2 separate regions of the Homo sapiens genome follow, and region 2 is linked to region 1. The links are contacts of gene promoters, found by promoter capture Hi-C in blood cells and fetal thymus (Javierre and others, 2016). All regions are on one chromosome and are shown on one strand. The core of a region is centred on a gene start or on the middle of the fragment in contact, and the rest is flanking DNA. Distances in the headings are between cores, read along the strand shown.

The links. Contacts are between HindIII fragments. The CHiCAGO score rates a contact against its expected background, and 5 or more counts as called.
Region 2: a contact is called between a fragment that was not itself captured here and the fragment with the promoter of CCDC59 in region 1, in 2 of 17 cell types (neutrophils and total B cells). The highest score is 7.8, in neutrophils.

The regions. Positions count from the first base shown.
Region 1 is chr12:82,355,016-82,361,513 of GRCh38, reverse strand. CCDC59 (coiled-coil domain containing 59) reads left to right here and starts at 3,127. Exons shown (of 4, transcript NM_014167.5): 1 at 3,127-3,291; 2 at 4,245-4,554. The coding sequence starts at 3,138. METTL25 (methyltransferase like 25) reads right to left here and starts at 2,985. Exons shown (of 12, transcript NM_032230.3): 1 at 2,690-2,985. The coding sequence starts at 2,948. RefSeq lists enhancers at 2,197-2,757, 2,688-3,247, 2,758-3,318. The HindIII fragment of the contact is 1,548 bases long and covers 1,815-3,362 here.
Region 2 is chr12:80,412,572-80,419,720 of GRCh38, reverse strand. No RefSeq gene overlaps it. Among named protein-coding and RNA genes, the nearest start is that of PTPRQ, 28 kb to the left of the region's middle. The HindIII fragment of the contact is 5,068 bases long and covers 1,279-6,346 here.

The sequences.
Region 1 (6,498 bases), core at 1,878-4,377:
CCCACCGTGGGCTCCTGCGTAGCCCAAGCCTCCCCAACGAGCACCGCCTCCTGCTTCACAGTGCCTGGTCCCATCGACCGCCCAAGGGCTGAGGAGTGCGGGCGCACGGCATGGGACTGGTGGGCAGCTCCACCTGCAGCCCCAACGTGGGATCCACTAGGTGAAGCCAGCTGGGCTCCTGAGTCTAGTGGGGACTTGGATAAACTTTATGTCTAGCTAAGGGATTGTAAATACACCAATCAGCACCCTGTGTCTAGCTCAAGGTTTGTAAATGCACCAATCAGTGCTCTGTGTATAGCTGATCTAGTGGGGACTAGGAGAACTTTCATGTCTAGCTCAGGGATTGTAAATGCACCAATCAGCACCCTGTCAAAATGGACCAATCAGCTCTCTGTAAAATGGACCAATCGGCAGGATGTGGGTGGGGTCAGATAAGAGAATAAAAGCAGACTGCTGGCGCCAGCAGCGACAACCCTGTGGAAGCTTTGTTCTTTCACTCCTTGTGATAAATCTTGCTGCTGCTCTCTCTTTGGGTCCACACTGCGTTTGTGAGCTGTAACACTCACCGCAAAGGTCTGCAGCTTCACTCCTGAAGCCAGCGAGACCACGAACCCGCCAGAAGGAAGAAACTCCGAACACATCCAAACATCAGAAGGAACAAACTCTGGACACGCCGCCTTTAAGAACTATAATACTCACTGAGAGGGTCTGTGGCTTCATTCTTGAAGTCAGTGAGACCAAGAACCTAACAATTCCGGACACAAGACCATACTCCTTGTGAGTCCCTAGTGGAAATCTATTTCAGTCTCCTTACAGCTCCTTAAACATACCTTGTAGGCTCCCTCGTCAGGGCATTTCTGTTTCCTGTTGTCACTAAATGGACTGCTTTCCCTCCAGAGATCTTCATGGCTCGGTTTTTTTCTTATCTTTTCAGCGTTAGAGTCACCTCAGTGAGGTCTTGCCAGGACAACTTACTTAAAAATGCAAACATTTTCCTCTTCTTCCCCTTACTTACTCCTCCCTTATCTAGTATACTTTTTTTCTTACAGCACTAAAAAAGTTTCAAATCAGATGACCCAGGTTTGAGAATCTTCCATTATCAGCTATATCCCTTGCAAATTAACTCCTCAAGTTATAATTCCACAAATCGACAATAACAGAACCTATCTTGCAAGGCTGATGTAAAGATTAAAAGAGAAAATACACATGAAGACACTTAGCACACTACAGGGTATATAGTAAATATCAAATAATCCAATTATTATTAGAATATGTAAGACAATCTGACTCTACCATTGTCTGGAGACCAGGCTAAACACGTATTAAAGTCTTACACTCTAAACTTGAGAGTAGTTTCATTTTATTTATTTAAAACTAACATGAGTAACTCATTAATTCCTCCATTCAACAAATATTCATCCAGTATCTAATGTATGCCAAGTATTTTACCAAGTGCTGGGAATACATCAGTTGACAAGTCAGACAAAGACTCTGCTCTTTTGGAGTTTAAGTAAAATTGTCATATCATAAGTGCCATATATTTATTATGAGAGCAAACTGAAGAAGTGCCTAACTTTTCAATAACAATTACTTAAAAAAACAACAACAGTATTTACCAAGTGCTATTATAAGAGGTCCCTCTAGTGATGCTTTGCATTCAGAGAATGCTCAATGAATAAAGTTCACTAGTAAGGGTAACTTTGGGAAGTCTAGAAGGAAAGTAAAAATCCCAGAAGCCTGTTGGTGTCCATCATTCTACTTCCAAAATATGCTTGCCTGAGAAGAATCTACATTTCTTGAGGGTAGGAAAAGCTTGAGCCTACAAAAATTCAAGACACATATTAGGTACTTTAAAATAGTTTTTAAATGAAATAGTGACTATCCGAATACCATCCTAGTCCAAGATACAATCATCTGTTGTACTACTGAGGTAGTCTCCTAACTGGCCTCTCAGCTTCAGCTTTTGCCCTAGTCTATTCTTCAAATAATTCACAGTTATCTTTTCAAATGTGAATTAGGTCACTATGTTGCCTAAATAATCCCAAGGGTTTCCGTCACACTTAAAATCCAAAATCCTTCCAAGGCCTAGAAAGGCCTGTGCCATCTGGCCTCTGCTTGCCTCCCGTCCTGCACCTGCAGCCCCTCACCTGGCTAGAGCCAAGCCTAGCCTGCGGTTCCCACCGCCTGCAACCCCTCCCTGTGGCTCTGCAGCTAGTGCCTTCTCATGTTCCTGACCTCCTAAATTGAGGCAGCCTCCTTACACAATCCCTACCACATTACACTGTTTTTATTTTCTACTTCATTACCACCACTTGAAATTATCTTTATTAACTGTTGAGTAATCTTCCACCACATGCTGGCATTTATAAAACCTGTGAGAGCACTGCTCCCCTAGTTTCCCTAGCGTCAATTATTATGGAATTACTAGATGAAGGAACTCCCCTGCCCTGTTTCCTGCTTTCTTTAAATTGTGGACATACACAAGCACCCAAAGAAAGAGTGATCCTGATTCCAAAGAACATCCCCACCCCACCCCTCAACTAATCCGACCCCTCCTCGGTTTCCCAGCGGGCCGCCCCGCCTCCGCCGCCACGCACCTGGTTCTGCTGGCTTCCACCAGGGGGCTCGCTTCGTCTGCCGGGACCTTCTCCTCCGCCTCCCTTCCCGCCCCGCCTACCCCACCACCCACCTGCTTCCCACTCTGCTTCCACTAGGGGGCGCGTCTCTGAGGGCAGGGCCTCCGTCTCCGACGCTGACTTCCTCAGCGCAGCCAGCACTGTCTCCGGTGGCAAGTCGACCAGCTCCTCCCACACGGATTCTGTGTAGAAATCCACGGTATGTGCATTGGAAATGGACAGGGCATCCCTCAGGAACTGCAGCAGTCCCTGCAACTTGGCACGCAGCGTGGGCAGGTCCGGGGTCACCGGGAGAGGGCAAGAAGCCGCCATGACGCTCACCCTCCGAGGCTGTAGGTGGCGCAAACATGGCCGTGAGGCGCCAGCTCGGCCCAAATTAGCACAGGCAGGCTCAGTAGAGCTCCGAGCCGGATTCCTTCTGAGCGATTGATTGCTTCGGCTTGGTGACGTATTTTGTGGGCGTCCGTCGTGGTCTTCTGATGACGCAGTTAGTCGGCTGCAATGGCGCCGGTGAGGCGGTCCGCGAAGTGGCGGCCTGGTGGTATTGAGGCGCGTGGTGAAGGGGTTTCCACTGTCGGGTACAGGAATAAGAATGTGAGACAGAAGACATGGCGGCCTAACCACCCGCAAGCCTTCGTGGGGAGCGTTCGCGAGGGTATGTAAGAAGGCAACCATTTGCAAATCCTCAGGCTTGCTAAGTTTTAGGATATAAGATTCGCTGAAGCTTGGAAGAAGGATTTAGGAACCAGACCCGGTCCTACTTGGGGCAAGGGAATTCATTCCTGAGCCCGCTAAAGCTGTGAGCTTCGCAGAGCTCTAGATAGGAAGACGGAGCAGTGTTGCTATTATTTAAACGTCTTTTCTGACGTAACCCTGTATTTCATCAGAACTTTTTTCCTATATTTTTCCTGAGAAACTGAGCAGAGAGAGTCTATGACCCTGTGAACTCTTGCGCATGTGGTAAGGTAAAGGATAGAGAGGAGGACAGGGCCAGAAACACTGCTCCGAATTCTTCCTTATTACAAATACCCGAGGCCCTCCAGCCTTCGCTTTAATTTGTGTTTGTCATTTTGTATTGCTGTCTGTAAGGTCTCTTAGATCCCACTTGGAATATATAAATGTTAAATTCAGTCTTCCGATAATTGCTAGCTTTTCAGACAACCATACACTGTCTTTTTCTTTCGTGTTGAAACATTTTCGAAAACATGTAGTTTGTCCAAGATACTAGATGTGGCATTTTCTTTCCTATTTTTTAAGCATTTATTGAAGGCTCAGATTAAGTGTTTTAGATGAACTAAGGAATTTGTTTTGATTTGTGAATACAGCTGTAAACTCAAGTTGTGCAACAGTCTGAACTGGTCAGTTTTTCTTTGAGATTCTTACTTGGATTTCCGCATGACTGTTAGCCTGGTCTTTTTGCAAAGGGCCAACTTACTATGCAATCCATCAGCTTAAATTTGTTGCTTGAAATAATTTTTTAAAGCAAAATATAATACTAGAATCTGAATGTGATGACGTAAAAAAAGTTTTCATTTGTAATTAACAGCTCCATTCTTCGTTCAACTTCTTTTCTCTGAAAGTAATTTTGGATGATATTCCTCAATGTAGGACAAGGCTTTGCTTTTCGAAGAAAACTGAAAATACAGCAAAGTTACAAGAAATTGCTACGGAAGGAAAAGAAGGCTCAAACGTCACTGGAATCTCAATTCACAGATCGATACCCAGATAATCTGAAACATCTCTATTTAGCTGAAGAGGAAAGACATAGGAAGCAAGCAAGAAAAGTCGACCATCCTTTGTCAGAACAAGTTCACCAGCCGTTGCTTGAAGAACAGTGTAGCATTGACGAGCCTTTATTTGAAGATCAGTGTAGCTTTGACCAGCCTCAGCCAGAAGAACAATGTATTAAAACAGTAAAGTATGTATTTTCTTCATTTGAAATCCTTTAAGTGTTGTTTTATTATTTAAAAGTACTATAGGATAATTTATATAGGAATTGTATTTTTTCTTATTTAACACATTTTAGAAGTCACGGTTTAATTAGGGAAACATTTTCATGGAGGCTCTATTTTTAGCTTCAATAACTGAATTAGGCTGGTTTAGCCTAATTGACAAAGTAACGTAATGGGAATTAAGAGCTCTGGAATTTGGGTTTCTTCCTCTCAAGTACAGGTGGTAACTTGATTGGACCATATGTTATGACTATATTTTTGAAAAATAACTTCTGAGAGGTGTTATAATTTTAGTCATTAACAGTATGGGTTCTAGAGCCAGACTCAACATGTTAGTGCCCCAGTGACCTCTTCTTTAAAATGGGAAAAATAACACTATGTCCTCTTTAAATTGGGAAAGATAATACTGTAATGAATATATACTTCAGAGCTGCCATGTTGCACAGCTCCAGAATGGATTACTCACATAAACTCAGGTGTTCCTAAGGTGTTTCATGACATTGTTGTGAAGACTCAGCGAGTTAATGTATATGAGGATCTTAAAGGGTATATATGGTACGTGGTTAGTGCTCTTGAGCGTTAGCTACTACTATTAATCTGGATTTTCTGCAGAGGACCAGAAATGGGTTGCAATTGCAAATGCACAGCTCCGTGACGCTTTGGTTTTATAAGAGTTAACTTATAAAAAACTATCGCTGCATACTTAAAGTTAAAAAACAATGCTAAAATCTAAAATTGCAAGAAGCTGGGTATTAACTTGGGAGCATAATTTTTTACTTCATTAAAACCGTATCTTTTAAAGTCGTGAGCTATTTGCGCTAAAAATAACAGGAAATGGGACCACGGGGGGTAAAAATGTAATTGGGGATGAAGGCAGAGACACAAAAAGTTTACTACTTTTGGTAGGCTTGATCATTATATTGTTAAATAATCAGTATAAAGTTCAGGGAAAAGATTAGCAGTAGAAATGTAGATTTGAGTTATTCTCTGATAATTGAAGTAAGGAAGTTTAAATCATGAGAAAGGAAGGTAAAAAATCATGCTTTTAAAGATTACGGTTTATTTTGGGGTGGAAACAGGGAAAATATTGTCATTGAGGAAGTTAAGCTTTTCAGGACTGGAGAAAGAGAAATACAGTGACAGCTCAGTCCACAGAGAAAAGTTGTGAGGGATTAGTCAGCTATCAAATATTGTGGTCCCCCGTTATCTGTTTGGAAGATGTTCCAAGACCCCCAGTGGATGCCCTGAAACTGCAAATGGTACCAAACCCAGTTTCTGTCAATTGGAATGTATTTCTGTTAATGTCTTTTACTTGGGAATTTAATGCCTTTTCCATCTTAAATCACGTACTGTGGCCATAACTTTTGCAGTTTGAAGTATGACAGCAAAACTAGCATGAATTTATTTTTCCTTCACAATTTGATGTATAGAAGATTTTTTTTAAAACCATAGATCTTAGCAACTTCAACATACGATTTTTTTTCCTTCCTTATTAAGTCAAGAACTTTTACCTTTTCACTTAAAGCAAACACTCAGTGTGGTGTACAATTTAAAACATATGAATTGTTTATTTCTGGAATTTTTCAATTTAATATTTTTGGACCTCTGTTGACTGCAGGTAACTGAAACCGTGGAACAGGGAAACCATGGATAAGGGGTGTGCTACTGTACTATAAAGTTGAAGGTGAATAGGACTGAGGACAGGTCTCTGGATTTGTGGACTAGGCAGTCACTAGTCACTAGTCCAAAGTCGCTAGTGATTAGTAGCTATTAAAATATTATATTGTAGTTACAGAGTATAGTGAAAAGTTGAATGATAGAGGAAAGTAAAGTTATTACTGAATCAAGGATGCTGAGGAAATGAATGGAATTCCAAGTAGTTGGATTAGCCTTGACAAAAAGGACATCTT
Region 2 (7,149 bases), core at 2,563-5,062, 1.9 Mb after region 1:
ATTTTTGGCAACAGTTTGGAGGAAGGATTCATTTACATTTTACACTCTCCTTGAACTCTGCTAAAGATTTTGATTGTACCTCAATTCTCTACTGTGCTATTTAAAGCAGATTTAAAATTTGAGATGATTTCTAGTAACATTATTTCTTTCTCAGGTCAATTTTAATTTCAATTCGATTTGTGGGTTATGGGGATAGCATCCAATATTTCCTTAAGCCTGCATTTCTCCCAAGCAGATATCTTTTCCTAAAATATACAATCTGAAAATGAATTTTTTCCCTCCAGAGCATAATTAGATGGCCTTTCCTTTTCAGTTTTATTTGTGACATCTGGTTTGATACAATGGAAGTTGTTCCAAGTTACTGTTAAATATTTGATAATGTTATTCTGCTACTTTACCCAGAGCCAGTACTTTAGGAAAGAATGTCCACACACACCTATAATGAGAATTTCAGAACATAAAATCAGTGCATTAGCTCCACAAATTTTTGTGAGCTGGAACTTGCAAACTTTTTGCCTTTTCAATTCTTGCTGGTGATGAGGAAATGTTCAATAAATGAACCATAACCAGTTCCATATGGTGTACTACTGGGTTTCGAGGCAGTTTTATCATAGTTTTCCTTCTCCAGTTATATTATGTTAACTTTTATTTTTCCGTCATCACTAATATTTTCTGTGGGTTTTCTCTTTAAATTCTGCATAGCCCCCTTCAGTTATAAAAGTCCTACAGTAACTATGAGTTTCCCAAGACAAGAGTAACATCCCACACATATCTAATACATCTGAATCTGTGGACAATGATCTATGAAAGCTTCCAAGTATGGCTTAAGCAGGAATTAAAAGATCTTGGGATGGTAAATGAGTGACAAGTATAATCATAGAACCAATTCACTTCCATGTTCTTGGGCACTGAAGACATTTTCTAAAAAGAGAGGTGACTTTAAATAGGCATGGTCTAATGTAGGTTCTAAAAGTATGTAAAAATCAATGTCATCCCCTCTAGTGAGTAAGCATGGGATTTTCGATCATTTCCACCTGTCCTAGAAAATAAGCCAAGCTGTGTCATGCATGACACTATAATCACCAAGGCTGGAAAGGTGTAGAATAGGACAGAGTTCTGTCTTGTCTTAAAAATTATATCCTGATCTGGAAAAATCATATGAGAAAAGATTTCACAAAAAAAAGAATAAAAGAAACATATTGCCACATACTGGCGACTTTCGTCAAGTTTCTACCTCGGACTGTGATTTCTATCCTTATCCGCTCTCCTGTAAAAGCTTTATCAAAAGAAGTGGTAAGATCAGGGGCTATACAAGATTTTTTTTTCAGTATGAGGTGAACTGAACTAGGCCAATTTCAAAGCCTTTTATTATAGGCAAGGTAGAACAAAGTCTGAGGGATGCTCCTATCATAAAATGTATTCTCCTGTGTCAAGAGGGGAAAAAAGGAAATTCAAACACCAACTCTCCAATAGTTCTTTTTCCCTCAAGAAAACCTGGGTATAGTTAATTCCTCCAACAAAGAGAGATCACACAGACTGCTGAAATGGCTTTACTTCCCACTATGCATGGCCATAGCTCCCCAAGGCCACCACTCCACTCCTATTGAGAAATAAAAATCACAACACACACTGTCATAGCACTTATTTGGTGCCAGGCACCAAGTCCTTAAATTACATTACTTTCATAAAACAGATAAGATTATGATTATTATTCCCATTTTAGAGAGAAAGAAGCTGAGGACCCAAAGGGCCTGAGTGACTTTGCAAAGGATGTAAGAAGCTGCTAAATCATGGAGCTGGAATACAAACCCAGGCAATTTGTTTCCATGGTCTGTGCTCATAAGCACTGCCTTCTTCCTAAGGGCACATTTTATGGTTCAGGTGCACAATCATAGCTAGAGATCAAGTTCTGCTGGTTATGTTCAGGACAAATTAGAGAGAGGCACAGACAGATAAGTTTCAAAGGGGAAAGGGAAAAAAAAGTATGTGTAAATTATATTTTCTTCTACATGCCCATAAAAGGCAAATGCCTCTCTTGCTTGACTATTTCAAAGTATATGGCAGAGAGAGAAATACAATGTGGTAAATTATATGTATCAATAAATATCTGTTGAATGAATGCATGCAAAAAAACTTGTTCCTATGCACCTTGGGACAGGTTACTATTTGCTTTAGGATTTTTGAGGCAATACAAATGATGCCTGATAAATAATCTGGTGATGCTAAATCTGATAGCAAGCCTACGAACTGGATAGAACACCCACGAGAAATAGTGGAGTGCTTGAAGGAATTAAAGATAATTACCCACAGGGAAAGAAAATATAGGAACCAGGGACACCATATGAATGTCTCTAAACATTTGCAGCCTGTCGTGTGAACCATAGATTGGGTTTGCTTTGTGATGTTCTAGAGAGTAGACTAGGTCCATGATGGGGAAAATTTTGGAAATGAATTACAGAAGCCCTGAATGACCAGAGACACTGTCCTGGGAATTATATATCATATGAGAGCATTGGCAAGATCTCTGTCCTAACTTCAAACCCCAGAATGCTATTCTTCTTAGGATTTGCATGTTAATATGTGTTTCTGCATCCATGTTGAATACCAGTTTGACAAACAATTGAATTACATAGAGCTAGGAACTCTATTTAGGCTGGAGATACGCAGCTGAACAAGATTTCACAAGAGCTCTAGAAACAGAGGCAAAACAAGTTTACATTTTAGATGGCAGATGGATGAAATATGCTAAGTACCCTGGAGGCAAAGAATTATGAGGCTTTTGATTTTGACCTGGAAGGAAATTTAGAAATAATATATTAAATGTCTCAAGTTTTTGAGAAAGAAAACAGACCCTGGGATAACATGGGGACATTCTCTAACCTCAGACTGCTAAAACATGAACTAAGGAGAAAAATCATTTTCCAACTTCACAGTTTACTCCTACTGCTATGCCAATAATTATTTAGTGGGTTGTTTTATAGGCATTAAATAATTCTTCTTGGTAATATCTCTTTCTTAGTTTTCTCTTTTATAACTACTTCTTATTATAATTATCTTTAGGTAGTTTTCTTAGAAATTTAAGCATGGAAGTTCCAGACATAAATTTAGTTTTAGTCTTTGGATGATAAAATAGGAAGATCTAGCACTGGTTGAGTGTGGACATTATCATTGCATAATTTTTTGGACCAATTTTTTTTTTCAGCTAGAATCACTGTAAGGTCCAATAATTTTCTCTTCTTCAGTGTCATCACCAAGCACCCAAATTACTCAAGTTAAAAGCCTAAGTTTCTCCCTTTCTTCATTCATCGCAAGCAGCCCATCTTGGACTTCCTACTTCCAGGGATTAAATTATCAATCTTGAATCTATTCATGACTTCACTTGGATCTGATATGGATTTAATCTGAATGTAGATCTCATGGCCATCTTGTGAAGGTTCCCACTGAAGAATTATATGGTCTTCTCCCACATCTTCAGGTTTTACATAAACTTTCTGAGGTGGATTAATACCTTAAGTAAACAAATAAATACATACACACATCTTAGCTTATTAGTTAGCATTATTCATGCTATTGAGTGAAAATAATTCAATATTAATGTTCAAAGTAAATTTTACAGTTTGTTATGTCAACATGTCTTGAAAAGCACTCAAGTTTTGAGAAAAGTGTATTCTTATTACTATGCAAAATTTATTAAAATGGTTAAATGTAAAAATTACAAGTCAAGGGGAAACAAATATAATCCTCAAGTGTTTGGCAAATTCTTCATACTTTCAAGAGTGCCATCAGAGTAATGTTCCCATTATTGAGATTATTCATGTTTTAATCAAATATATATGGGCACCTACCAAGTGCCAGGCACTCTTCTAGGCAGGTAGAGTACATCAGTAAAAACTAAAGATCCTTGTCCTTATGGAGTTCATATTCTAATAGGTGGAATAGATAATAGCAATACATAAAATAAGTACGTATGTTATATAGAACTTCAGAGGTGATAAGTGCTGCAGAAAAAGTAAAAAGTAACCAGGGTGAGGGAGATGAAGAGTGTGGTGGCTTTAAGGAGGAAGTTGTGGTATGAAGTAGGGATTTCAGGGCAGATGTTTTTCAAAAGATAGGGTTTTCAGCAAAAAGGTGAAGGAGATTGGAGAGTTAGACATATGGATTTCTGGAAGAAGAGTATTAAAGCTGAAGAAACAGCTAGTAAAATCCCTAAAGTGGGAGCTTATCTGGTGTGTTCAAGGGTGGAAGGAAAGCTAGAATGAATGAAGGAGAGAATAAGATGAGGTCAGAGGCAAATAGAAAGCCAGTTCATGCAAGTTCTCAAAGGCGTTTGCTCCAAGTCAAATGGGTAGCAACTACTGAGTTATATGCAGATGCATGATCATTCCTATTTTTAAAGACTCACTTGGGCCGTGACATTAATAACAGACCACATGGAGGGCCAGTGGTAGAAATAGGGAGCCAGCCCAATAATCCAGGTGAGGTGGAATGGTTGCCTGGATGAAAACAGCACTCAGGGAGGTGGGGAGATATAGTGTGACTCTGGATTTATTTTGAAGACAGAACAAACAAGATTTCTTGACAGGTTGGGAATGGGTTGTGAGAGAAACAGAAGAGTCAAGAACAACTTCAAGGCTTTTGACTAAACAACTGGATGAATAAAATTACCATGAACTGAGAAGGGCTGTGGATAAAGCAGATTTGGGTAGAAACACCTGGAGTTCAGTTTTGGGCATGTTAAATTTAAAACATCTCATAGATAACCAAATGAGCAATAATGCATACGCAGTTAGATGTTTGAATGTGGAGTTTGGGACAAAAGTCTAGGCTTTATATAAAGTTATATAGAGATATAACTTTATGAGTCATTGACATATAGATGTCTTTAAAGTTTCAGAGCTGGTATTTATTATAAAACAGTTGTAACTTTATACTACTTTTCTGATTTTTGAAAGGTGTGATATTTATTAGAAATATAGAGGAAATTAGCAGGTTATGCTCACTGTTCATGCATAATATCATTGGAGAATCTTCTTGATACTTTATAATAATAACTGAAGATGATACTTCAGCCTATTTCCTTGCACCGTTTCCTTGAATACCAAGCCTTCTGATTTTTTTCCTATCATACAGTTTTCTGGAAATTGTAAATGTTTTCCTTATAGTATTGTTTATCCTATAGTATGTTTTTCCTGATCTTTTAATAGTTCTCAGCTACAATAATCATTAGTTCATATCTCTAAGGATAATTATGCAATTTTAAACTTTTTAGTAGTTTTACTTTAAAAATCTTTAAAGAATTCTCTATGATTTTTATAGTTTGCCGAAACTATTATTTGAACTTTTATCCGTTTTAAAGTTGACTTCTTTATCAGTACAATTTAATATCACATTTTAACTTCTCAGGAAAATATTCTGGGTGGAACCCTTAGTCTGCATCCCATATCTTAATTTCACAAAACTGTAGCTGATGTTTAAGTTAATTATTTATGTAAAATTATCAGAAAATGCCAGAGTAATCCAATTAGAAACACTATCCAATAAGATTCCAGGGTGAAACAACTTCAGAAAATTATTCTTATATTCTTGCAAAACCTAAAAATCTATTTAAACATTTACTGCAGTGGAGGACTTAGATGTAATCTACCGAATGCCACATATAAGCAGAGATTGAGGAAACGCTGGGATTTGGTGGGTCTGTGATAGCGCTGAATTTGCTTACAAAATTGTCTGTGCATGTATTTGCATTTTCATAAGAGTTAATTTTTTTTAAATTCTCAAGAGGCTCCATGACCCCAAAAAGGTTCAGTGTTACTAAATAAAATATACTCCAGAGTATGTATCAAGGGTGTTCACATTCTGTGCCTAGCTTACATTTTCTAGACTCTCCCTACGTGCCCCTCTGTTCTCTAGCCATTCCTAATGTTCAAATGTTAGTGTCTTCAAAAAGGCTTCTCTAGCTTTCCTAGGTCAGCTTTGTTGAATGTCTTTTCTCTGTCCTTTGCCTAGGCACATGCTGCTTGCTCTACCTGCAGCATCTTTCTGCCTCCCTACTGTCACCTGCTGGCTAATTTCTACTCCTTCATGATTAAGCCCATCACTTACCCATGACCATCGGCACCCTGAGTTTGGGCTAACTGATCCTTCTCTATGTTCCCATAGTATCCACAGCATAACTACTCTAATGGCAATTATAATGCGGCACTATCACTGTTAACTTATTTGTCTCATTCTTACTGAGACTAGGTCTTCTTCATCTTTGTATCTCTAGTGCCTAGCTCAGTTCCTGATACTGAAAAATAATTCATTGAGTGAATAATGAATGAAAAAAAGAATAATTCCTCAAGCTTTAGAGAGTAAAGGAACACTGGATTACTAAATCCTGGACATGCACTGGTATATCAGCTTACAGTAAAAATACACAGCAAATGACTCCCCAAAAAATTAAAAGTGCTGATTCACATTGTACCTTTTATGAAATAAATAGGTATATTTCCTAGAAGATTTTAAGTCGACTTCAAAATTAATAAATCTGTGAGAAATCCTCCTAGTCCATCTGTCAATTAAAAATGAAAGCACCTTCCTAAAGTGTAAAGGACCCAACAAACCAAGCATTTGCCAATGGAAGGATACTTAGTCTGAGTTTGGAGAAGAGAAAACACCTGCTACTATCCAATTGGAAAAATATTTTTATTAGGATTTGCAATACTGAATACTTGTATGTTAAGCATTGGTTTTTAGTAAGCATTAAATTGTATCTATTATTGTTATTATTTTCAAAGAATCTTAAATATTCCCAATAAGTATAGGAAGGTTAATTAATCTATATCTGTGCACATGCAGGTTTTCCATTCCACCTACTTCAGCTCTAGGGTGTTTAAATTTTAGCTGTTGAAATTCCAAAGAACTTTGCACACTGCATGTCAAATACACAACACACACTACACTTATAAGAATATATTGCCAAAATGTGCTTAATTATGCATTGTTTTGTAAGATAATGTTTTATCTTTTTAAAAATACGTCCTTATATTTTATGGAATAAATAGAATTATTAATTAAAACAATCGATTACTTTAATGATTATGTTCTGGACAAGGATTCAAAAACTGCTATGTGGAGGTTAAGAGGAGGGTAGAAATGCATTTGCCA